Regions from separate parts of the Homo sapiens genome. Here regions 2, 3, 4, 5, 6 and 7 are each linked to region 1. Evidence: promoter capture Hi-C in 16 types of primary human blood cells and fetal thymus (Javierre and others, 2016). All regions are on one chromosome and are shown on one strand. Each heading gives the region's core, a stretch centred on a gene start or on the middle of the fragment in contact. The rest is flanking DNA. Distances are from core to core; before and after follow the strand shown. Region 1 holds the start of GRXCR2 (glutaredoxin and cysteine rich domain containing 2). Region 2 has its middle 20 kb from the start of YIPF5. Region 3 overlaps KCTD16 (potassium channel tetramerization domain containing 16). Region 4 overlaps KCTD16 (potassium channel tetramerization domain containing 16). Region 5 overlaps KCTD16 (potassium channel tetramerization domain containing 16). Region 6 overlaps KCTD16 (potassium channel tetramerization domain containing 16). Region 7 overlaps KCTD16 (potassium channel tetramerization domain containing 16).

The links. The method cuts DNA at HindIII sites, captures the fragments that hold promoters and counts their contacts. A CHiCAGO score of 5 or more calls a contact.
Region 2: a fragment that was not itself captured here is called in contact with the fragment with the promoter of GRXCR2 in region 1 in 1 of 17 cell types (M2 macrophages); the score reaches 5.7 in M2 macrophages.
Region 3: a fragment that was not itself captured here is called in contact with the fragment with the promoter of GRXCR2 in region 1 in 6 of 17 cell types (total B cells, naive B cells, M2 macrophages and 3 more); the score reaches 11.9 in total B cells.
Region 4: a contact is called between a fragment that was not itself captured here and the fragment with the promoter of GRXCR2 in region 1, in 2 of 17 cell types (naive B cells and total B cells). The highest score is 7.7, in naive B cells.
Region 5: a contact is called between a fragment that was not itself captured here and the fragment with the promoter of GRXCR2 in region 1, in 2 of 17 cell types (naive B cells and total B cells). The highest score is 6.4, in naive B cells.
Region 6: a fragment that was not itself captured here is called in contact with the fragment with the promoter of GRXCR2 in region 1 in 2 of 17 cell types (total B cells and naive B cells); the score reaches 5.6 in total B cells.
Region 7: a contact is called between a fragment that was not itself captured here and the fragment with the promoter of GRXCR2 in region 1, in 1 of 17 cell types (total B cells). The highest score is 6.1, in total B cells.

The regions. Positions count from the first base shown.
Region 1 is chr5:145,871,407-145,874,477 of GRCh38, reverse strand. GRXCR2 (glutaredoxin and cysteine rich domain containing 2) reads left to right here and starts at 1,464. Exons shown (of 3, transcript NM_001080516.2): 1 at 1,464-1,845. The coding sequence starts at 1,510. The HindIII fragment of the contact is 6,212 bases long and covers 1-3,071 here.
Region 2 is chr5:144,148,761-144,151,831 of GRCh38, reverse strand. No RefSeq gene overlaps it. Among named protein-coding and RNA genes, the nearest start is that of YIPF5, 20 kb to the left of the region's middle. The HindIII fragment of the contact is 2,557 bases long and covers 128-2,684 here.
Region 3 is chr5:144,220,450-144,223,520 of GRCh38, reverse strand. All of the region lies in intron 3 of KCTD16 (potassium channel tetramerization domain containing 16), which reads right to left. Among named protein-coding and RNA genes, the nearest start is that of KCTD16, 51 kb to the right of the region's middle. The HindIII fragment of the contact is 3,435 bases long and covers 1-3,071 here.
Region 4 is chr5:144,242,609-144,245,679 of GRCh38, reverse strand. All of the region lies in intron 3 of KCTD16 (potassium channel tetramerization domain containing 16), which reads right to left. Among named protein-coding and RNA genes, the nearest start is that of KCTD16, 73 kb to the right of the region's middle. The HindIII fragment of the contact is 4,013 bases long and covers 1-3,071 here.
Region 5 is chr5:144,259,723-144,262,793 of GRCh38, reverse strand. All of the region lies in intron 3 of KCTD16 (potassium channel tetramerization domain containing 16), which reads right to left. Among named protein-coding and RNA genes, the nearest start is that of KCTD16, 90 kb to the right of the region's middle. The HindIII fragment of the contact is 1,056 bases long and covers 968-2,023 here.
Region 6 is chr5:144,301,474-144,304,544 of GRCh38, reverse strand. All of the region lies in intron 3 of KCTD16 (potassium channel tetramerization domain containing 16), which reads right to left. Among named protein-coding and RNA genes, the nearest start is that of KCTD16, 130 kb to the right of the region's middle. The HindIII fragment of the contact is 1,314 bases long and covers 998-2,311 here.
Region 7 is chr5:144,326,249-144,329,319 of GRCh38, reverse strand. The region is part of intron 3 of KCTD16 (potassium channel tetramerization domain containing 16); the gene reads right to left. Among named protein-coding and RNA genes, the nearest start is that of KCTD16, 160 kb to the right of the region's middle. The HindIII fragment of the contact is 4,124 bases long and covers 1-3,071 here.

The sequences.
Region 1 (3,071 bases), core at 215-2,714:
GTAGTCCCAGCACTTTGGGAGGTCAAGGCAGGCGGATCACGAGGTCAAGAGATTGAGACCATCCTGGCCAACATGGTGAAACTCCATCTCTACTAAAAATACAAAAATTAGCTGGGCATGGTGGCGTGTGCCTGTAGTCCCAGCTACTCGGGAGGCTGAGGCATGAGAATTGCTCGAACTCAGGAGGTGGAGGTTGCAGTGAGCCGAGATCGTACCACTGCACTCCAGCCTGGCAACAGAGTGAGACTCCGTCTCAAAAAAAAAAAAATAAAATAAAATAATAAAAAAAAAGAATCCAAGCGAATGGCTGTAGGGGAATAGGAGGGGTCAATTTGGGTAACTCAGTAAATGGTGATGCTGGTAGCAAAGACAGGGAGAAAGGCTTTACTCCACTTTCAGCTCCTCACATCCAACCTACCATTTTCTACCCAGCCCAAGGGCCCTTTTCTTTACAAACCTTCTTCCATCCTTGTCTCCTTAGAGACCACTTCCTTCCCAGAGTGGCTATTCTGGGATTCAGCTGTGGGCAGTTTGCTCTCTAAGCATGAGGTTATTATTTCACCTGTGTGAGGTCTGTATGGGATTGTAGGACTGTTCTCAGGCCCAGGTCACATGCTTCTGTGCTATTCACTCCAGCCACTAGTTCAGTGTCAGGCATTTACGAAGTCCAACAGGCAATGGGGACTTGTGCTGTGATTGCAAATGAAATCTTAAATGTAAAATACATACCAAGTGGAGGTGCTCTGGTTAGCGTAGGGGGAGAAGGCCCAGAATCCAGGACCCTCGGCCTTCTCCTGTTCTTAGCAGCAGCCTCCAAGAACCTCCACTGTATCTAGGACGTCATTCCCTCTTCTAGAACCAGAACTGGAAAACTTCTGGTTGTGTGGGCTGATCTTGGGTTTTGGAGTCAGATAGATCTGGGTTCAAATCCCTGCTCTGTCACTTACTTAGGTGTAATAGAGCAGACAAATGATGAAGATAAATGACAAGTGGCTCTAAGCCTCACTTTCCCCTGTGTAAAACAAAGGTAAGATTTTCTTTGTAGGGTTATCGTGAGGATGAAATAAAATAATGCATGTAACAATCTCTGGTACTTATGAAATGCTCACTAGATTTTAATTGTCATTGCTAACAATAAGAAGACACTTGTTAACTAATTGAGTGTCTGATCCTTATTGAATTGGCACATGTTCAGTCTAAATAAACTTCTTCATCCTCAGGTTAAGAAAGGTTAGGGTTGGGGTGAAGTCATGGTGAGCTTGGGATTATGAGAAGAATCAATCTTGTCTTATATTCCATCCACTCCATCAAACCAGAATCACCTGCCTTTTCATGAGGGTCTATCAATATTTAATGTATGGGTGTCAGTTGCTGTAAACTGACCATACCCCAGCAACAACTTGAATTAATTATATGCAGGAGGAGAGAAAATAAAATGCCTTTTTCTCAGAGGCCCAAGTTTCACCGGCTGCACGGAAGGCTGGAGACCACAGGGTCAACTTTCTGCTGATGGAGGACCCTGAGAAAAAGCTGAATCAGAAGAGTGATGGCAAACCCCGGAAAGTACGATTTAAAATCTCCTCCTCCTACAGCGGTCGAGTATTGAAGCAGGTCTTTGAGGATGGGCAGGAATTAGAGTCACCAAAGGAGGAATACCCTCACAGTTTTCTGCAAGAGTCTCTTGAAACAATGGATGGTGTTTATGGGTCTGGGGAAGTCCCCAGGCCCCAGATGTGCTCCCCTAAGCTGACTGCTCAGAGGATCAGTGTGTTTAGAGAGGGTAATGCCTACACCTTGGCAGGCGGCCAGCCTCGGTTCAACGATTACAAGGCGAATGACCATAAGGTTGGTATTGTGCATGGCATATAGGCTTTAAGGGTAGGGCTTCCTAAAACGTGTTTAGAGAAACTCCTAAATGGTTCAGATTTGTGTCTTGCTCCCCCTCCGGTACCAACCAGAACTGTTGGTGCACCAAATGGGAAGTTGTTATTAGACGAATATTTCTGGGGTAAAAATAACATGCTTGTTGACTACTAATTGGAAAGTGCAATGAGCATATATAGTATTCAAATTCCATCCAAGGTAATACATTGTAATTGGATCTTTGACTGAGTTTTCCTGGAATGTAAATTAAATAGAGGTGCAGTGGTTTTCAGGTTGTCAGACTGCGGTTTTAGACAATTATGCAGTCATTTTGTTTCCTGAAAGAGCTGAGTATTTGAAAGTGCTCATTTTACTCCAGCCAATTACTCAGCTTGCAGTTTATCCATGTCTTGTTTTTTACCCCTATTGCCTTCCTCATACTGCCTGCTTTGTCTATTTATTTTTCCTTTCCATTGCTCCTTAGCATAAGCTCTGGGTAGTTGGAGTCCTGGGAAGGGATGGTGAAACGCAAATCAGCCAGAGGATATGTTATGTGAGGAAGAAGTTTGAGCTAATGGTTCGATTGAAGAATGTGTTTAATCTATGAATTTCAATTACTTCCCAGTACCATGGATAATCAAAAGTCCATACATGATTTTCTTTTAAGGTAGAACCTGGAAAACATACACTGGTATCCAAAAATTCATAGGAGATGTATATATGCTGTCAGTGGGACCATGAATGACTTCTTAAAAAAGATAAAATACAATTATATAATGTATCCACGTTATTAATGAATAGCACACCAGGATGTGTTCTCATCTTTAAAGTGTGAAAGCCAGATAATTACTCTTGAATTATTTTTATTGTTAGTTTCCTAAGGGAATAGATAACACATCTATTGCAGACAAATGTATTACTGGCTTTACTGGCATTGGTAAAAGTATAATTATGGGCATGTTCACAATTACCGAAGATAACACTAGGCTTGTTTTTGATATTAAAAGGGGCTGAAATGAATGACCTCTTATCTTAATGGGGTGACGTATGCAGTACAAAGTGTCATCATGTACTATCTCTGTCTATATCTATGGCATTGGGTCTTTACTATAACCTTGGGGAGAAAGGCCAAAGTATGGTCATTCCCATTTTGCAGAAGAGAAAAATTGAGTGCCAAGTTGTTAAGGGATCCATCTGATACTACAGGG
Region 2 (3,071 bases), core at 157-2,656, 1.7 Mb after region 1:
TTTTCCTGGTTTAGGAACTTGGAAAATGTTTTCCACCCTTGTTCTATGAGTTTTCCCAATGAAGTTCCAAGCCATTAAGTGCCCACCATGAACAAAGCCCTGCTTTTGGCTTCCTCCTTAGCAAGCTTAATATTCTCTACTTCGATGTTTTGTTTTTTGTTTTTTTTCCGCCCCATAACTTATTTTCTTTTTCTAATTGCCTTTGGATTAATCTCTAAATCCCTTCCGAATTCTTCATGTCTTTCTTTAATTGTATAGTCCAGATCAGGAAAATGCATGTTTCATGTATCTAATCATGAGTGTGTAAAGGTGACCTCACATCTTTTTCTTTTTTTTTTTTTTTTTTTTTGACAGGCTCTTGCTCTGTTGCCTCGGCTGGAGTGCAGTGGTGCATTCATGGCTTACTGCAGCCTTGACCTTTCGGGCTGAAGTCCTCCCTCCTCAGCCTGCCGAGTAGCTAGGACCACAGGCACACGCTACCACCACACTTGGAATTTTTTTTACATATTTTTGTAGAGACAGAGTATCACTATGTTGCTGAGGCTAGTCTTGAACTCCTGGGCTCAAGCAGTCCTCCCACCTTAGCCTCCCAATATGCTGGAATTACAGGAATGAGCCACTGTGCCCAACCATCTATTTCTTTTCATGTAACTAAGTGACACATTTCTTGCATACTTTTGAACTGACAGTGGTAAATACATATCTTAGTGCTCACCCTGTTATGGGTAAAAAACTTGGTAAGATTTTGAATAAGTAATTTTTGTGCCTTAATTTTCTCTATATAAAATGAAGAAATTGTATTAGATTCTTTAAAGCATTTCAATTCTGAAATTCTACAATTTCTGAGATGGTGATAAGATTTTAGCCATATTAAAAAGAGAATAAATACTGACATGGTAAAGTTTTCCCTGAATATATTTTAATTTTATCAGGAAGTATATATAGTATACCATCTTTGTAAAACAAAAAGAACTTTACATATTTGTGTGTGTGTGTGCATGTGTGTACACACACACTTGCCACCTGGGACAAATATTTTACTAAATGAGAGAATTAATGAATTTATAGATGCTGTTTTCAAACTTCTTGATTGGAAGAAGTTTTAACTATACCTTAGAAAGAAAATGTAATTTTGCTACAATGACGCTTAATGTAATTTTGACTTTTAAATATTTTGTCCTTGGCTGGGTGTAATGATTCACACCTGTTATCCCAGCAATTTGAGAGGCCATGTGCTTCAGCCCAGGAGTTCGAGACCAGCCTGTAATATAGTAAGACCCTGTCTCTACAAAAATAAAAATATTAGTCAGGCATGGTGGTGTACACCTATAGACCCAGCTACTTGGGAAGCTGAGGTGGGAGGATCACTTGAGCATAAGAGGTTGAGACTGCAGTGAGCCATAATCACACTGTACTCCAGCCTGGGCGACAGAGGGAGACCCTGGCTCAATCAATAAACAAATAAAATGTTGTCCTTCCAGTCTAATTGCATTGAAAAATATAGCTATTACCCAGGCATATCACCCATAGTTCAGAGTTTGATATTCTACCATTAGATTAATTTTTTTTCTTTTTGGTTCATCAGTGCCTCTCTCAATCTTGTAGGTACCTGATTCACTCTAAAGTACCAAGGACGTTCATCTCTATTAGCACTAGCCTCCTGGGGTGTAACGTGACTCTTCACAAAAAGTCCAGTAACCATTTCCTTAGTTCAATAACTAATACATCTTTGAGAAATTGAAAGCTGCACTACTCTTGAAGAAAGCAATTGTGTTCATTTCAGCAACATGGAAAGTCCAGGAAAAACTAGTATGACTCTCCAAAGGCAATGCTTATAAAGGAGAGGGAGACTTTATGTTGTTTATTAATAGATTTGATTTTTATATTTATCATAAGATGTAATATATGCAATAAGATAAAAAGTATAATAGCATGTCCCTTGCATTTAGAGTGAAATGTGAAAACAATATTAAATCTATCTAAAACACCCTGCATATTCTTTAATTACATCCCATATCTTCCCCTCAGAGATTACTAGTTTATCATTTTGAGCATTTCTTTATATTTTTACTAGGTATGTATCTATTCTTAAAAATTGTAGTATTACTTGGCATGTTTTTGACTTTTATATAAATGATACAATGCTGTGCTTTTCTTCTGTAACTTGCTTTTTTTACTCCTAAGTTTCTGCAGTTCAGTTATGTGAGTACTTGGTGACGCTCTGTTTACTGGTCTGTATTATACCATGAGTATATCATCACGCATTGATCCATTTTTCTGCTAATAGACATTATGTTTGTCTCCAGTCTTGCTTTTACAAACAATGGTCTGTAAGCAGTGTATCTACCGTGTGTGCAAGGGTTTCTTTGGGTATCTACATAGGGTTGAAGTGTTACATTTGTATGGGTTTGTGTCTTTTTGCCTTATCCCATAGTCATAAAAGCAGTCTCAATAGTTCTTCTAAAGATTTTAAAGTTTTGCTTTTCACATTTAAAACTTTTTAGCCCCTTGTTATATGGAGAAGAAATCAATTTCTGGTGTTTTCCCCCATAATGCATAGCCAATTGTTCCAGCACCATTTATTTTATGGTCTCTCCAGGATAGGTACTGTTAAGCTAACCATAAAGCATTTTTCTAGGTTAGTCCTGAAAAAATGAAACCTTTTCTCTCCGTTAAGGAAAGCTTTTCTCTCCTTTATCTCTTTAAAAAATTGTCTGTATTTTTCTTCCTCCTCTAGCCTCAGTCTCTCTGCTTTTACCTTAATGGTATCTGCTTTATTAATGGAAAAGATACATGACTTAGAAGAAGTAGTATCTCAGGACAGTGTGACTCCCTATATCCTAAACCAGGGGTCAGCAAACTTTTTCTGTATCAGGCTAGATAATAAATATTTTAGGCTTTACTGGCCAAGAGGCAAAATCAAGGATATTATGTATAATATCTATACATGTAAAATAGGTGTTATAGATGTAAAATGCATATTATATATAAGAAAGAACAAATTTCCACAAAATTTTTATTGAAAAAATTAAAAATATAGTAATTTAGTATAATTTTTTATAATGCAGGTC
Region 3 (3,071 bases), core at 174-2,673, 1.7 Mb after region 1:
GGAAGATCCAAATGTACCCATATCTTGGATGTATGATACTGAACTGTATAAAAATATAGGGCTGATGCTACCATTCTATTAAAACCTATTTTTCATTTTATCTTCTTTATTTCTTTACTAGCTTATTAGCTACATATCTGTGTTTTGTTACTTTAATGATGTCTTTAGAATTTATAGTACATATTTTTAACTTTCTACTATCTACTTTTTTATACATATATTATTTTTATTATACTTTAAGTTCTAGGGTACGTGTGCACAATGTGCAGGTTTGTTACATATGTATACATGTGCCATGTTGGTGTGCTGCACCCATTAACTCGTCATTTACATTAGGTATATCTCCTAATGCTATCCCTCCCCGCTCCCCCGACCCCACAACAGACCCTGGTGTGTGATGTTCCCCTTCCTGTGTCCAAGTGTTCTCATTGTTCAATTCCCACCTATGAGTGAGAACATGCGGTGTTTGGTTTTTTTGTCCTTGCGATAGTTTGCTGAGCATGATGGTTTCCAGCTTCATCCATGTCCCTACAAAAGACATGAACTCATCCTTTTTTACAGCTGCATAGTGTTCCATGCTGTATATGTGCCCCATTTTCTTAATCCAGTCTATCATTGTTGGACATTTGGGTTGGTTCCAAGTCTTTGCTATTGTGAACAGCGCCGCAGTAAACATACGTGTGCATGTGTCTTTATAGCAGCATGATTTATAATCCTTTGGGTATATACCCAGTAATGGGATGGCTGGGTCAAATGGTATTTCTAGTTCTGGATATTTGAGGAATCGCTACGCTGTCTTCCACAATGGTTGAACTAGTTTACAGTCCCACCAACAGTGTAAAAGTGTTCCTATTTCTCCACATCCTCTCCAGCACCTGTCGTTTCCTGACTTTTTAATGATCGCCATTCTAACTGGTGTGAGATGGTATCTCATTGTGGTTTTGATTTGCATTTCTCTGATGGCCAGCAATGATGAGCATTTTTTCATGTGTCTGTTGGCGGCATAAATGTCTTCTTTTGAGAAGTGTATGTCTACTTCTAAGTGATATTATGCCGCTTTGTGCACATAGGAATCTTACAATGGCATATCCTCATTTATCTGCTCCAGGCCCTTGGATTATAGTTGTTATGCATCTTACTTTAATGTTGAATACCCCACACCACATTATTACTTTTTCTTTAATCGCTAGTCTTATAATAATTTAAATAATAGAAATGTATTTGCCCATTAAAATACTTATTTTTTATTTTGACCATTGATATATAAATGCTTTTGCAACTCTCTAAAAAAAGCAGTTAGAACTGGCAACCTACAGAATGGGAGAACATTTTTGCAATCTATCCATTGACAAAAGGCTAATACCCAGAATGTACAAAGAACTTTAAAAAATTCACAAGAAAAAAACAAACAACCCCATCAAAAAATGGGCAAAGGTGAACAGACACTTCTCAAAAGAAGATATTTATGCGGTCAACAAACATATGAAAAAAAGCTCATCATCACTGGTCATTAGAGAAATGCAAATCAAAACCACAATGAGATACCATCTCACGCCAGTTAGAATGGCAATCATTAAAAAGTCAGGAAACAACAGGTGCTGGGGAGGATGTGGAGAAATAGGAACACTTTTACACTGTTGATGGGAGTGTAAATTAGTTCAACCATTGTGGAAGACAGTGTGGGGATTCCTCAAGGATCAAGAACCAGAAATACCATTTGACGCAGCAATCCCATTACTGGGTATATACCCAAAGGATTATAAATCATCCTACTCTAAAGACACATGCACACGTATGTTTATTACAGTACCGTTCACAATAGCAAAGACTTCAAACCAACCCAAATGCCCATCAATAATAGACTGGATAAAGAAATGTGGCACATATACACCATGGAATACTATGCAGCCATAAAAAGGGATGAATTCATGTCCTTTGCAGGGACACGGATGAAGCTGGAAACCATCATTCTCAGCAAACTAACACAAGAACAGAAAACCAAACACTGCATGTTCTCACTCATAAGTGAGAGTTGAACAATGAGAACACATGGACACAGAGAAAGGATCATCACACACTGGGGCCTGTCAGGGGGTGGGGGGCAAGGGGAGTCATAACATTAGGAGAAATACCTAATGTAGGTGATGGGATGATGGGTGCAGCAAACCACCATGGCATGTGTATACCTATGTAACAAACCTGCACGTTCTGCACATGTATCCCAGAACTTAAAGTATAATAATAATAATACTAAAGCAGATTTAATGTCTCTCTTCTTCATTACGCATCCTTAAGACATTCTCTAGATGTTCACTCAAGCTAATATAAAATCTGCCTTAATAGCAGACATCTAATAAGCAACATGGCCACTTTACATATGTGGTATTATTTGCTACTCAGTGTCTTACAATGCAGTTACATAGATCTACCATTCCTGTCATACAACGGAGGTACCTAAGGAATCTGACTTAGCAAAGTGACTTTGCCCACTCCTGTCCACATCTCTTAACCTCTTTCTCAAGGTTCAAGTTGCCCTTTTCTTTTTTATCTTTCACTCATTTCTTCTTCTTTTTTTTTTTTGAGACGTAGTCTCGCTCTGTCGCCCAGGCTGGAGTGCAGTGGCGTGATCTCGGCTCACTGCAACCTCCGTCTCCTGCGTTCATGCCATTCTCCTGCCTCAGCCTCCCAGGTAGCTGGGACTACAGGTGCCCGCCACCACGCCCGGCTAATTTTTTATATTTTTAGTAGAGACGGGGTTTCACCGTGTTAGCCAGGATGGTCTCGATCTCCTGACCTAGTGATCCACCCGCCTCGGCCTCCCAAAGTGCTGGGATTACAGGCGTGAGCCACTGCACCTGGCCCTTTTCATTCATTTCTATAAGAAGCCAGCTATTATATACACCTACATACATGTATATAGTAAGTGTGTATGTATAAACACACACACACACACACACATAAATATACATATAACCTGCTGCCTTCATGGTGAGAGGAAATTCTATTATTATAATTTATCATCATGAGGTGGGGAGAATAGAGAAAAATAACTTATTGAGTTCCTACTATGT
Region 4 (3,071 bases), core at 287-2,786, 1.6 Mb after region 1:
TGATGTTAAACCATGAGAAACAGCCTCCATGATCCAATCACCTCCCACCAGACCTGACCTCCAAGATTGGGGATTACAGTTGAACATGAGATTTGGATGGGGACACAGATCCAAACCACATCAGCCCCACTTCCTCTTTGTCCTCTGCTTTCCTCCCATTCTGGACCCTTTTGAGTTCTTCAGACATGTCATTCTTCTTCCTCCCTCAAGACTTTTGCAGATTTTAGTCCTTTTGCCTGGAATACTCTTATTTCCTCCATGTGTCTTGTTAACTCCTATACTTAAAGTCGCACCGCAACCATAACTTCCTTGCGGATGTTTTCCTTGACTTCTCTGATGAGGTTAAACCCTCTATTCCCTCATTATACACTCTTATATTAAAATAGTCTTCTCTTTCAAAGTATCTACCACAGTTGTATCTTTCCATTTATTAGTTTGATTCTTTGATTAATTTTTATCTCCCTTCTAGACTGTATGCTTCTTTAAGACAAAGATTGTGTGTGTATTTTCTCCCTAATCCTCATCACCCAGCACAATAGCAGGTCCATTGAAGATATTTAGTAATTATTTGTCAAATAAATAAATAAATGTACAATGGAATAAACAAAACATACAGTTTAAATTTCTGAGGGTCATGATCAGCTTGTAATAGAATATTGATCATTGTCTTCTCATATCTGGAGCTTTCTAATCTTATAATAATCTCCAAGGTTCACATCTGATGACAAGCCAAAATAATGCCTAATGATGTTACAGTTCACCCATGATTTTCAGCTTTCAAGGAGCTTTCATAGTCACTACTACATTTCATTTGATTCTCAAAACCATCCTAGGAGGGGATTTGTTACTGGCTTCATTTTTACCAATTAAGAATCTGAAGCTCAAAATGATACAAAGTTAAGGTTAGAATTCTGACCACAAAAGGCTCCTGGCAGATCAGTCTAGGGAAAGTGAGAAACTAGGAATTGGGTCTACTTTGAAGGTACATTGGGAAAGATATCTAAAAATAGAGATCTCTCCAATCCCAAGCAAAAACACAGGTTTAATGTGTTAAAGAGGTTATTTTGTTAATATGGAGATATAATGGATCACACATTGACCTGACCATAAAGTATATCTGATATGGAAGTGCAAAAATGAAAAGAAAAACAGTTAGTCCAATTCTGTGGAATTGACTTAGCAACCCTCACCAATTTGTCCTTTATATATATCTGTTTTGTGATTATTCTTTCTACTGCATGACAGCCAACTGCAAATAGACTTTCCTATCTCTATTTATCTATACAATGCAATTTAGCACTTTGTTATCAAATTTGCTCTTAATGCTTCCTATGTATACCTTTAGAATCACAACTAAAATAGAAGTAGGCAGGAACCATGTCTTAGCATAACTCAGTATGTCATAATCAAGCATCTTATAGATCATTTGACCAAACCATCTCTTTTTATAGAAGCATGACAATCCCAAAATAAATTGCCAAGATGTTGAGAAGAGATTTTGAGGGTCTTGAGCTACACAAAGACATAAATTACAGTCCTGAATCCCCCAAAGAGTGGGGAGTCTTAGAAACTCTCCATGCTTTGGTTAGAATACTCCCAAAGAGTTACATGCCATAAATAGAAAAGTATTCATGGGGGGCTGGACGCGGTGGCTCATGCCTGTAATCCTAGCACTTTGGGAGGCCGAGGCAGGTAGATCATGAAGTCAGGAGATCGAGACCCTCCTGGCCAACATGGTGAAACCCCGTCTCTACTAAAATACAAAAAAATTAGCCGGGCGTGATGGCGTGCACCTGTAGTCCCAGCTACTCAGGAGGCTGAGGCAGGAGAATCACTTGAACCCAGGAGGCGGAGGTTGCAGTGAGCCAACATCGTGCCACTGCACTCCATCCTGGTGACAGAACGAGACTCTCTCTCTCTCTAAAAAAAACAAAACAAAAAAAAGAGTATTCATGGGGACAGAAGTTCTTCAAGTCATCTGGACCTTTGAATTTGGGTTAAGGTAACCCAGGGTAGCTAGTACCGTAGTCTTCTGCTTTAAGTAAAAATAAATCCTCTGTGGAGGAAAATCATCTTAGACTTCACTTTACTCTGAAGTTTTTTCAAATAAATGTCTGGGATTTAGTAGAAATAAGCCACACAGAAGAAGAGAAAAGAAAAAAGGATAACAAAAAGATAGAACAGATACACAACATAAACAAATACACATGGGATCCAAATAATAAGGTCATCAGGCATAGAGTATTTTACCACATACAAAGAGATAATAGAATTCCAAATAATTTATGCTGATATTCTCCCCTTGAGGAGGAGCACAACTTCCCTCTCCTTAGGTGTGGACTGCACATAGTGACTTCTTCTGAAAGAGTACAGTATGAAAAAGAGAAAGAAAGAGTAACTTTATACTGGAGAAACATGACAGCCACTATCTCAATCAAATAATCAAGATCCACATCAAAAGTAATAATCAAGATCCACATCAAAAGTAATAAGTCACATTAATAATGTGTACCCTTGATATGATGTGATGAAAATGACACTTTACATCTATGGTCTTCCTCCCAAATACCCATAACCCTAGTCTAATTATGAGAAAACATCAGCCAAAGGAGCCTAAGGAAATAAAATATTAAATGTAATATGTTATCCCAGATGGAATCTTGAAACAGGAAAAGGTCAGTAGGTAAAAACTAAACCTGAATACATTATGGACTTCAGTTAATAATAATTGCTATGATTTAGATATTTATCCCTTCCAAACCTCACGTTTGATCCCCAATATTAGAGATGGGCCCAATGGGAGGTCTTAGGTCATGGGGTTAGATCCCTCATGAATAGATTAATGCCTCTCCTTGGGCTTAAGTGAGTTCTGGTTCTATTTGTTCCTAGTTGTAAAAAGAGCCTGGAGCCTCCTCCTCCCCTTGCTTCCTCTATGACCATGCAATCTCTACACACATCAGCTCTCCTTTACCTTCAGCCATGAGTAGAGGCAGCCTGAAGCCCTCATCCAATGCATATACCCAATCATAAACTTTCCAACCAGCCAAATCATGAGCAAAATACACCTTTTT
Region 5 (3,071 bases), core at 246-2,745, 1.6 Mb after region 1:
TATTGGGATCACAGAGGACAGATGAATCAAATAAACTGAAGATTTCTAAATGAGTAGGGCATGAATATTAACTGATCAGTAATATAAAAACTAACAAATCAGCTCCAAAGAAGTAGGAAGGTCTTTCTCTTTTAAGACAATGTTTTGTGTTCATGAGTTCAAAGAACTGGTGTGGAAAGGATTAAAATGAGAAGAGCACATAGTTTTCCTACTTATGTTTCTTCAAGTGGTTATAAGGTATAGGAAAACCTGTTCAACCTGATAAATCATCTGATATTAGATAAAGATAAAAAATGTTTGCAGAGCAAGAATATTCTTCACCATTTGCTAGTTTTAAAACATAAATCAGGTCAGTCATGTTATTTCCTTGCTTGAAACCCTTCACAGGTTGATTATTGTTTTATCAATGAATTATATACCTTGTCCCATAGCCCACAAGTTTTGTCCTTCCTCTGCAGCCTCATCTCCTGCTATCCTTGCCCTGGTGCATGAGGCTTTGGCCAAGTTCTTTCCCAGCCGAGCTCTTGTCTTTACTTTTGCTGTTCCCTCTGCCTGGAGCATTCTTCTTTCAGTACTTTAAAAGTCTGATGTATTTTCAGGTTACAGGTCTTGGTTCATATGTTCCCTGCTTAGAGAGGCCTTCCCCGATCCATTAATTCTTACCCATCTCATCCAGCCTGCCACATTTGCCATCTTCATAGCATTGACCACTAGGTATCTATTTCTTTTTATTGTCTTTCTTTCTCAGAAAGGGAGGAACATGATTGTAGCACTCCCTGTGTCTAGCACAGTGAGTGGCAACAAATGAAGTATTCAGTAAATATTTATGAAATGGATAAATAGAAGAGTTTGAGAGAAAATAAGTATGTGAAGTACTTATTTAATCAAAATGATTCTTTAAAAAAAAAGTCATTGTCCTCATTCAGCTTTTGGGACAGATAAGTGAGAAGAGGAAAGGACTGAAGCTTCAGGTACATGGGTTGTGGGTACTTGATGAGGTTGGGAGAAGGCCAACTGGTGAAAGACTCACTGTAAAGATTAAAGAAGAAAAATAATTGTCCCTCCAGTGGCACTTGCCAAGGGTTGCAATAAGCCCGGATGTGCAGTGAAACTGCAAGGAATTTTTACACTTTGAATATCCATTTCCAGATTTCACAGAGGACTTCTCAGGTGACCTTGAATAAGCCATTTAGGTACGTTTCTGAGTTACTTAATTGAACCATCTCTATGGAGAGAGGTGATGAGGCTTGTTAATTTACATTTGTAAAAACACTTTGAAATATCTGGATGAAAGAATTGCTGCAGAGAGGAACAAAGGGTGAGGTAATATGCTCGGTCAAATTCTCCCCTTTTATAGAAGCAGAGAGGGTGCAGGCACATTTGAGGTGACTTAAGGGGTGCCTTTGCCACATTATTTTTCAAATTAATCTTCTAAGAAAACCCCCTACTTTCAGTAAATCTAGTGTTTTAAATAAATTTATAAGATACTAATCTGGTAATTATTTTCCTTTAACATTTTTCTCCTAAAGTTCCAGCTTTGTGTAAAGGAAATCTTTAGGGTATTTTCCTGGGAGGTGTTCCCTCTACAACTGTTCCTTTTTTTTTTTTCTTTTTTTTTTTTTTTTTGTTGTTGTTCCCAAAGAGCTGAAATACAGCTCCTTCTTTCATTTGTTCATTTTTAGCCTGTATCAGTGATACTCAAATCTTAAGCATGACAGCCTCTGTTGCTAAGCTAATTGGGACCCAATTGGGGTCGTTTCATCAATTCTAGACAGATATTTACAAGTTACAGTCAGATATTAAAGTAAGCTCAGGAAGGAGAAAAGTGAGAAAATTTCAAAGAAAGCTGCCAGCCTATAGAGTTAATTATATCCATTTACATAAAAAATGATATTAATAGCTACTTAAGAAATAATACCAATATAACAGAAAAAAATTAGAATAATAGTCTCTTTCGGCAAGATAAATAGAGACTCAAATATAAGACATTAATTGCTAAAACTGTCAAGGCAAAAGCCAAGCTTTAAAAAAACAAACAACAACAACAACAAAAAAAACAGGCAACCATCTTTTTCGACATGCTACACCAATTATACACTTGCGATTCTGCCCAAATGACCATAAATCTCACATTATAGTTTCATTTATGTCTTTTTGGACCTTATAATTCTTATTTCTTTGGGAGGAAGCAATAAACAACTTTATTACTTGCTCTCAGAAATAATAGGAAGGATTTATTTGCCTTACTGTGCCTTGCTCTTCCTTGAAGAGGACTGAAGCTCCTTGTCCCTTTCAATGGATCTAGACAAGACACTTGTCCTAGGAAACTGCTTCTTCAGAAGGCTGCAGAGCTTGGTGTTCTTTCTCCATCATATCTTTCAGAATTTTCTTTAACTACTTTACCCTTGAAATCTCTTCTTCCTCAGCAGACAGCTGGGCCCCTTCTAGCTGCTCAGAGGCCATGCAGAGTTTAATTATTTCCAGGTCAAGTCCTGCATGCTGTCAATGAGCACACGACAGCTCATTCTTGAGTGCATCCTAGACCATATCCACAATCCCAGTTACATGAATACTGCATATGGAGCCACAGGAGAGGTTTTCCACAAACAGTCTTACTTCTCAGGACTTTTTCTTGTCTGCTCATACACGAACTGCATGAATGGAGTGAGAACAATTGCTCTATCTCTTATTTCCCTTTTTTATGCCAAAGTTTGCTTAGCTTTTGAGCTAACTATCCTAAGAGATGCCTTTCATTTCATGCAGACTGGAAAGATGAAATGCAACCTGCTTAGGGGCTGATTTGCAAACTCTTGTCCCATTCTTTGATTCATCACCTTGACAATAGAGTATTGAACATTATGACATGACAGAACGGGGTTGAACCATTAAATTCCTGTGGGCAAGGCATCCTAAACAGAGACTAAGGTACTATAAAGAAAATGTTTACTATTTTAAAATAAGTGGCTTCTTGATGGCCACAGGGTTTTTGCTAGCTTTTGACAGGTCACCTACTTGCATCTGTTTGTCAAAGAAAGAGCCTGACGGTCTTTACTTGAAAGAAAGAAATTCAG
Region 6 (3,071 bases), core at 405-2,904, 1.6 Mb after region 1:
AACCTGTCTGTGAAGCGTAATTAAGCCAAATACTTTCCTTCTCTTCTCCAGGCTGATCAATTCAAATTCTTTTAGGCTTTCCTCCGAAGAAACAATTTCCCATTCCCTTAACCTCTAGGTGCTTCCCAGATTCTTCATATCCCTTTTAAGGGCCACTGACCACATCTGGACTCCCCTGGAATGAGAGTCAGACTAAAGCTAAGTGCAGCAGAAAGATGACTTATTGCTGCTATGTCACATGTGCTTCATGCTGCACTTCAGGATCACACTGTCCTTTCCTTTCCCCACAGCACTATTACCCACACTGGCTCATCGCAGTCAACTTGGATTTAACTATGACACCCTGGTCTTTTTTTATTCTATCTAAAATAAGTGAATTTTTATCCTCACATGATTTACTTGTTTCTTTTTTCTTTACTATAAGACATTTCTTTTAGGTCTTTCATTTCCTCTTTTTATTTGAATATTTTTGTAGAGCCAGAAAATGTATACCTAAAGAAGGGGAGGAGTTTAGATTATATAAACGGGAGTGGTAAAATGGCAATTATGGGCCAAAAAGTGTCATAGATGTATATTCTGTGCCAGGATATCTTTAAGTGTGTTTAAGGCTGTGACATCTATAGGCCAGGTTGATATGCACTCTCCAATGACCACAGAACTAATTCCTGTCTTTTGTCTTAAACTCTTTTCCAGGCCTCTAATGGCATTTAAGTTTGAACTCCCAAATCCAACCAACTTATGAAACAGAAGGTGAAGGCAGGAGAGGAGAAATGACCTCCCCAGCCTCACAGAGCCACTTACTGGAGAGCCTGAGCCCCAACCTGGATCTCCTCATTTCCCACCCCCACCTAGTCCTTGCATTATCATATTTGTTGTTTCCTTATAGTGGCCTGAAAAATAAAGAGTTGATAATGAAGAGTTTTAGATGTTTTAAATGATATTTCTGATAACAACTAAACAGGTGCAGGTCACTCTGAGATAATGAGCACAAAAAGCTTAATCATGTTTGAAACTTTTGACAAGAGACTGAACCTTTGGTCATTTCCATTGCTCTTGCCACACAAAAGCCAAGGGTTCTATTTCCATCTCTGAACAACCCAGCCCAACCTCAAGGTCCTAAAGAATCTTAAAAGTGCTGTACTTGATCTTTAACAAATCATAAAAGATTTTACAGAGATCTCACAAGCCTATAAAGCTATTCATCTTTGTTCCTAAGTCTAGAAAAAGAATCACTTCCCCAGCTTAGGTAATTAAGAGTCAGCTGAAACATAGAGGGCTTGCATATGAAGTGATATAATTCTAATAACACTTGCAGAAAACATGAGTTAACTAGAGACAGCCAGCCACCCTACTGTGTAAAGAAAATTTGACTGCATTTGGAGGTCTTCTGTCCTTGACACGTCTATCAAGATTGCTAATGGCCAGCAAACCACAGGCCTTTTGAAAGGAGGCACTAACGCTCTAATAATGTCAATTATACAACCAAACACTCAACAAAACAGAAGAGAGGAAAGACTGGATGAATGATCGATAGAGGTAATTAGATTTCCCTGTACAATATAGAAATGATTTCCATATTCCACAATATCCTGCTGCTCATTCTATAGGCTGCATTTCTTTTCCACTGCTTACAGCCAACCCAAAGGGATCCAAGTTTAAAGAGACAGAACAATGAGGAAAGAAGAGGCCAAGTGGGCTTTTTAATCATTCTGTCCATATCAAATTATTAAAAACTGTTTTCATCACATACAACTGTGGCATAATCTCTCATGCAATTTGAAAACATTCTATACACTAGAGCAACTGATTTTTCCAAGGATGTTGAATGTCAGAGCTAGAATCAGAAAAACAGGGTGTTTTACAGTTAAGTTATTCTTTCTTTGATACTGTATTTGACGTACGATAATAAGTATTCAGGAAGCTAAAAGTCATTTGGGCTGATTCTAACCAGAAAGAAAAATCAGTGGGTGAAGATTTATAAATTTGTTAACAAGTCTAGATATAGCCAGGGATGAGTGAAGCTGCAACCTAGAAAAGCAATCATACTTGAAGTCTGTAGTTCTTCTGTACCAAAGATAGAACCCAAAGTCATGGTTGAACACCATCTTCTACCACCTGCCATAAAATCCTCCTTTGTTTTTGTCTTTCATATTTCACTTCATTCAAAAATATTTATTACACACTTACTGTGACAACATATATTCTTGTTTTAAACTTATTTCTCTTTCTCCTTTTGTTTCTTTTCATTTTTTTCTTCTCCCTGACACCTGCCCAGAGTACTTTGAAATTCATAAAGTGATACTATTAAGCTTGAAGACACTTGACCACTGTGCAGTGCTAAACCTGCCTGTCTCTTCACTTTTTATAATGATCACCTATGAATGTGCTCTGGGGTCAGAAAAGCTGGGTTTGAAGCTCTACTGCCTCTAGCTATTTGCTCTTGGGCAAGTCACTTAAACTATCTTCACCACAATCTTCTCATTTTTAAAAGGGGATAGTAATAAAACCTAATTTTTACATAAAACTTACTTAATTTTGCGTAAAATTTAAAAAAGAAAATATCCCAAAACTATTTAGAAGAGTGACTGCCACAGAATAAGTATTCAATAACTGAAATCTGTCATTATCATTAGAAACAATAAAATAAAATAAACATGAAATAAAATTCTTCTTCTGAATTTTCTTGTTTCCACTTTCATGAATCCTAAAAGTATCTAAAACATCAAAAGCTACTATGTTGAAGAACCAAAAATACAAGATTTTGGATGGGCAAACTGCTGAGCACTTGGTTGCTAAGGGAAGCATCAAGACACTTTTTTGTTCATGGGTTGATTAGCAAAGTGGTAATTTCCATGTTGTTAAAAATGACAGAGCGTTACCAAAGATATCCTGTTCACTATGTCGAGACGGCATTGTGCAAGTGAATTTTTAAAGTAGAGATGGATTCTTAATCCATTCTTAAGGCAAGAATTTTCCAAGCACCTACTATATACATAGAATTTCGCTAGAAACAAAGAAAGATATAAGCACAACAAAAATTATGTTTAACACAAGGAGCTTAGAGTTTTGCT
Region 7 (3,071 bases), core at 428-2,927, 1.5 Mb after region 1:
AGAGATGAAGCATCCTAATGATTACAGTGGCACAGAGGTGTTCTTTGAGTGAACCAAGCAAATAAAAATTAAAGTTCAAAGTCACTGGGTAATCTAAGACATTCATTACACCTGTGCTGAGCCAGTCAGGCCTGATCAGCCAAATAGGCATCAGGCCAGTGAGTGTGCAGGAGAAAGTAAACACCTCTAAGATTCACCTTGTTTCCTCCCAAGGGTGTCAACATTGTGGGATGCAAACAATATTTCAAATAAGTTTGCCTTGAAAAGCACTAGAGGGCTTTAAAAAACTGCTCTGAGTCTCAAGCCTGGGATATAGATGGGTGATCATATTTATAGTTCATTCAATAAAAAATTAAATACAGATTTAAAATCACTATAGCAGCCAATCTGAACCAAGAACGATTGGCATCAATGAATCAGGCAATAAGAAATCAGATGCTGATAAAAAAAAAAAAAGAAAAAAGCTACAGCAAAGTCTTTCCCAGCCATAAGATGCAGGAAAATGAGAGTGCTTTTCACAGTGGAGAAGGACAGAATGATTCCATAAAGCAGGCGGGCAAAACCCACAGTAGATCTCCAGCTATGAGTAGCAGGGTGTAGCTGACAGCAGCTGGACACACACTGGAGGCCTGTGATAGAGGGCCTTGATGTTCAGGCTAGAGAGTCTAGAGGTCCTTAGGAGCCACAGTTAGTTTACACATAGATGATGTAATGCACATGAAAAACAACAGGATAAAATTGTTTCAGCACTTAATTTCGCAGGAATACACACTCACTGCTTGCAAAATAAAAAAAAATAAAAAAAATAAAAAAAAAAGAGGATATTCGCTTCCTGGTCCTATCCCACACACTCAAATCAACAGGCAGAACAATTGCTAGTCTCAGGGGAAGGCCTACTCCGAAAGAGAGGAGATACAGATTGATTCTGGTAAGATCTCTTCTTCCTCTTCCTCGGCCTCTAAATAAGATTAATGAGGAGATTTATGTAATTGCCTAGTGAATTCACAACCACATATGCACCTTTCCATGAATTGTCAAACTTGTCTGAGTATCATATTAATGTGTGACTTTAATATTGTCTCCAACATAACTCTGATGGTGTTAAAACAGGCTAAAATATGAGCAGAACTTTTCATTCTTTATTTCTCCTTTCTAAAAATATTTATTGAGTACTGTGTTAGGTGCAGTGGGGATCCTGAGATAAAAAGCACTGCTCTACACTCACTTTTCTCACTTTCTAAGTGAGGAGAGAAAGTAAACCAATTTTTATACATAGTGTGATGTTGTTGGTGGGAGGCTAATTGATGAAACATTTTGTAGAGTTAATCTACCAATATTAAATAAACACACGCCCTCAGACCCTGAAATCCCACTGTTTTGGATGTATCCTGAAGACATACTTGCAGATGTTCACCAGGGATTCTTCACTGCAGTGTTTATAACATCGGAAAGCTGCAAACCAGCAAAGTGTTTGTAATTAGGAACCCAAATAATTATAAATTATAAAACATCCATAAAATGGAATTATTAGATAGCTGTTTTAAAAAATGACGCAAGCCTGCATGTGTTCATAGAATTACATCCTACATATATTAAATAAAAAGCAGGATGAAAAATATTTCCAAAAATATGATTTTTTGTGGGTCATTTTTTTAATTCATGTGTATATTTAGTCACATGTGCATCGGAAAATGCAAAATTTCTGTTTTATGGAAAGAAACACAAGAAACTGTTAACAGTGATTATCTGTAGAAAGGGAGACTGAGGTACACATATAAAAACATCAAATAAAATTAATTATTTCAAAATACTGTGTGGCAAGCATACACAGCTCTATATTGGATACCATGGAAACAGGAAGAAGGGTTCATGAATTCTAATGGGAAGAGATAGGCAAGATCAGGAAAACCATCCAAAAAAGGTAATAGTTGAAGACAGAGCCAGCATTAGACTTGGAGGAGCAATCAGGAAGGCACAAAGCTATTCTAGAAGATGCATTTTTGGAAATTGACTGAATCTTCAAATCTAGTAGGTATATGTCACTCATAGCAAGGAGAAGGGCTTACTTAGAAATAATATCCAAATTCCATAGATCACTAGAACATAGGTTCTTAGCTGCAGGCCACCAATATTATGTAGCCTTAAAAAATACTATATGTACTTCTGTCTGAGGAAATACTGTCATACCTGCACCTAGAGGCAAAATCTTCACCGTTGCCAACATTGCCACCATAGCTTCCAGCGGTAAATAGTTTTGCTTCCACACCAATAAGTTCCAAATGGATCGTTTAGTTCCCGCACTCTATCAAATGCTAAATTTTCCTCAAAACTCTGCAATTTCCTCAGAATTTTCTCAGAACGCTCAGTTACTGAATTTATACTCTAATTACTTCAAATATGTTGAAGGCTGGCCATAATGTTATAATATAGGGACAGGAAACCTTTTAATTACAAATACAACATATCTGCTTGGAAGAGTCTTTCATTACTGAGGATAAGAATTTTAAGAAGCACTTTGTTAAGGATAATTTATTTCCCAAAAGACAAAGAATTAGGTCCTAGAGGCAAATAAAAGGAACTGGATTTTTCTTTCTTTCTTTTTTTCTTCTCTTTTCTTTCTTTTTTTTTTGTGAATTACAAACTGATCTTTCAACTAGGTGAAAATCCAACTCCCCATAAAAGCCTCCTTGCAGTCATTTTCAGTTAAGAAGAGAATAGTGGGAGGTATTGAAATGAGAAGAAATGATTAGTTATAAGGTCCAATTTGTTTTATATGTGAAACAGTATTTATTTTATTTCCATTTTAATACTTTGAATTGCACAGATTGAGTGGAGTTTCATAAGGCAGATGGCAAAATATTTCAACTTATCATAAACTAGTATACTTAATGGAAAAGGTTACAAACATTTTTTAAAAATTTATACTATCAATAGATCTATTTGTTCCTCGATGAGATAATTATTTTCTATTTTTCTCCTGCTAGTTTCAGGCATCCACTGATATTCTGTATTTACTATTACCCTCTCAGTCAATTTACTTCACAGACTTTATTGTCACAGACTTAGGCATC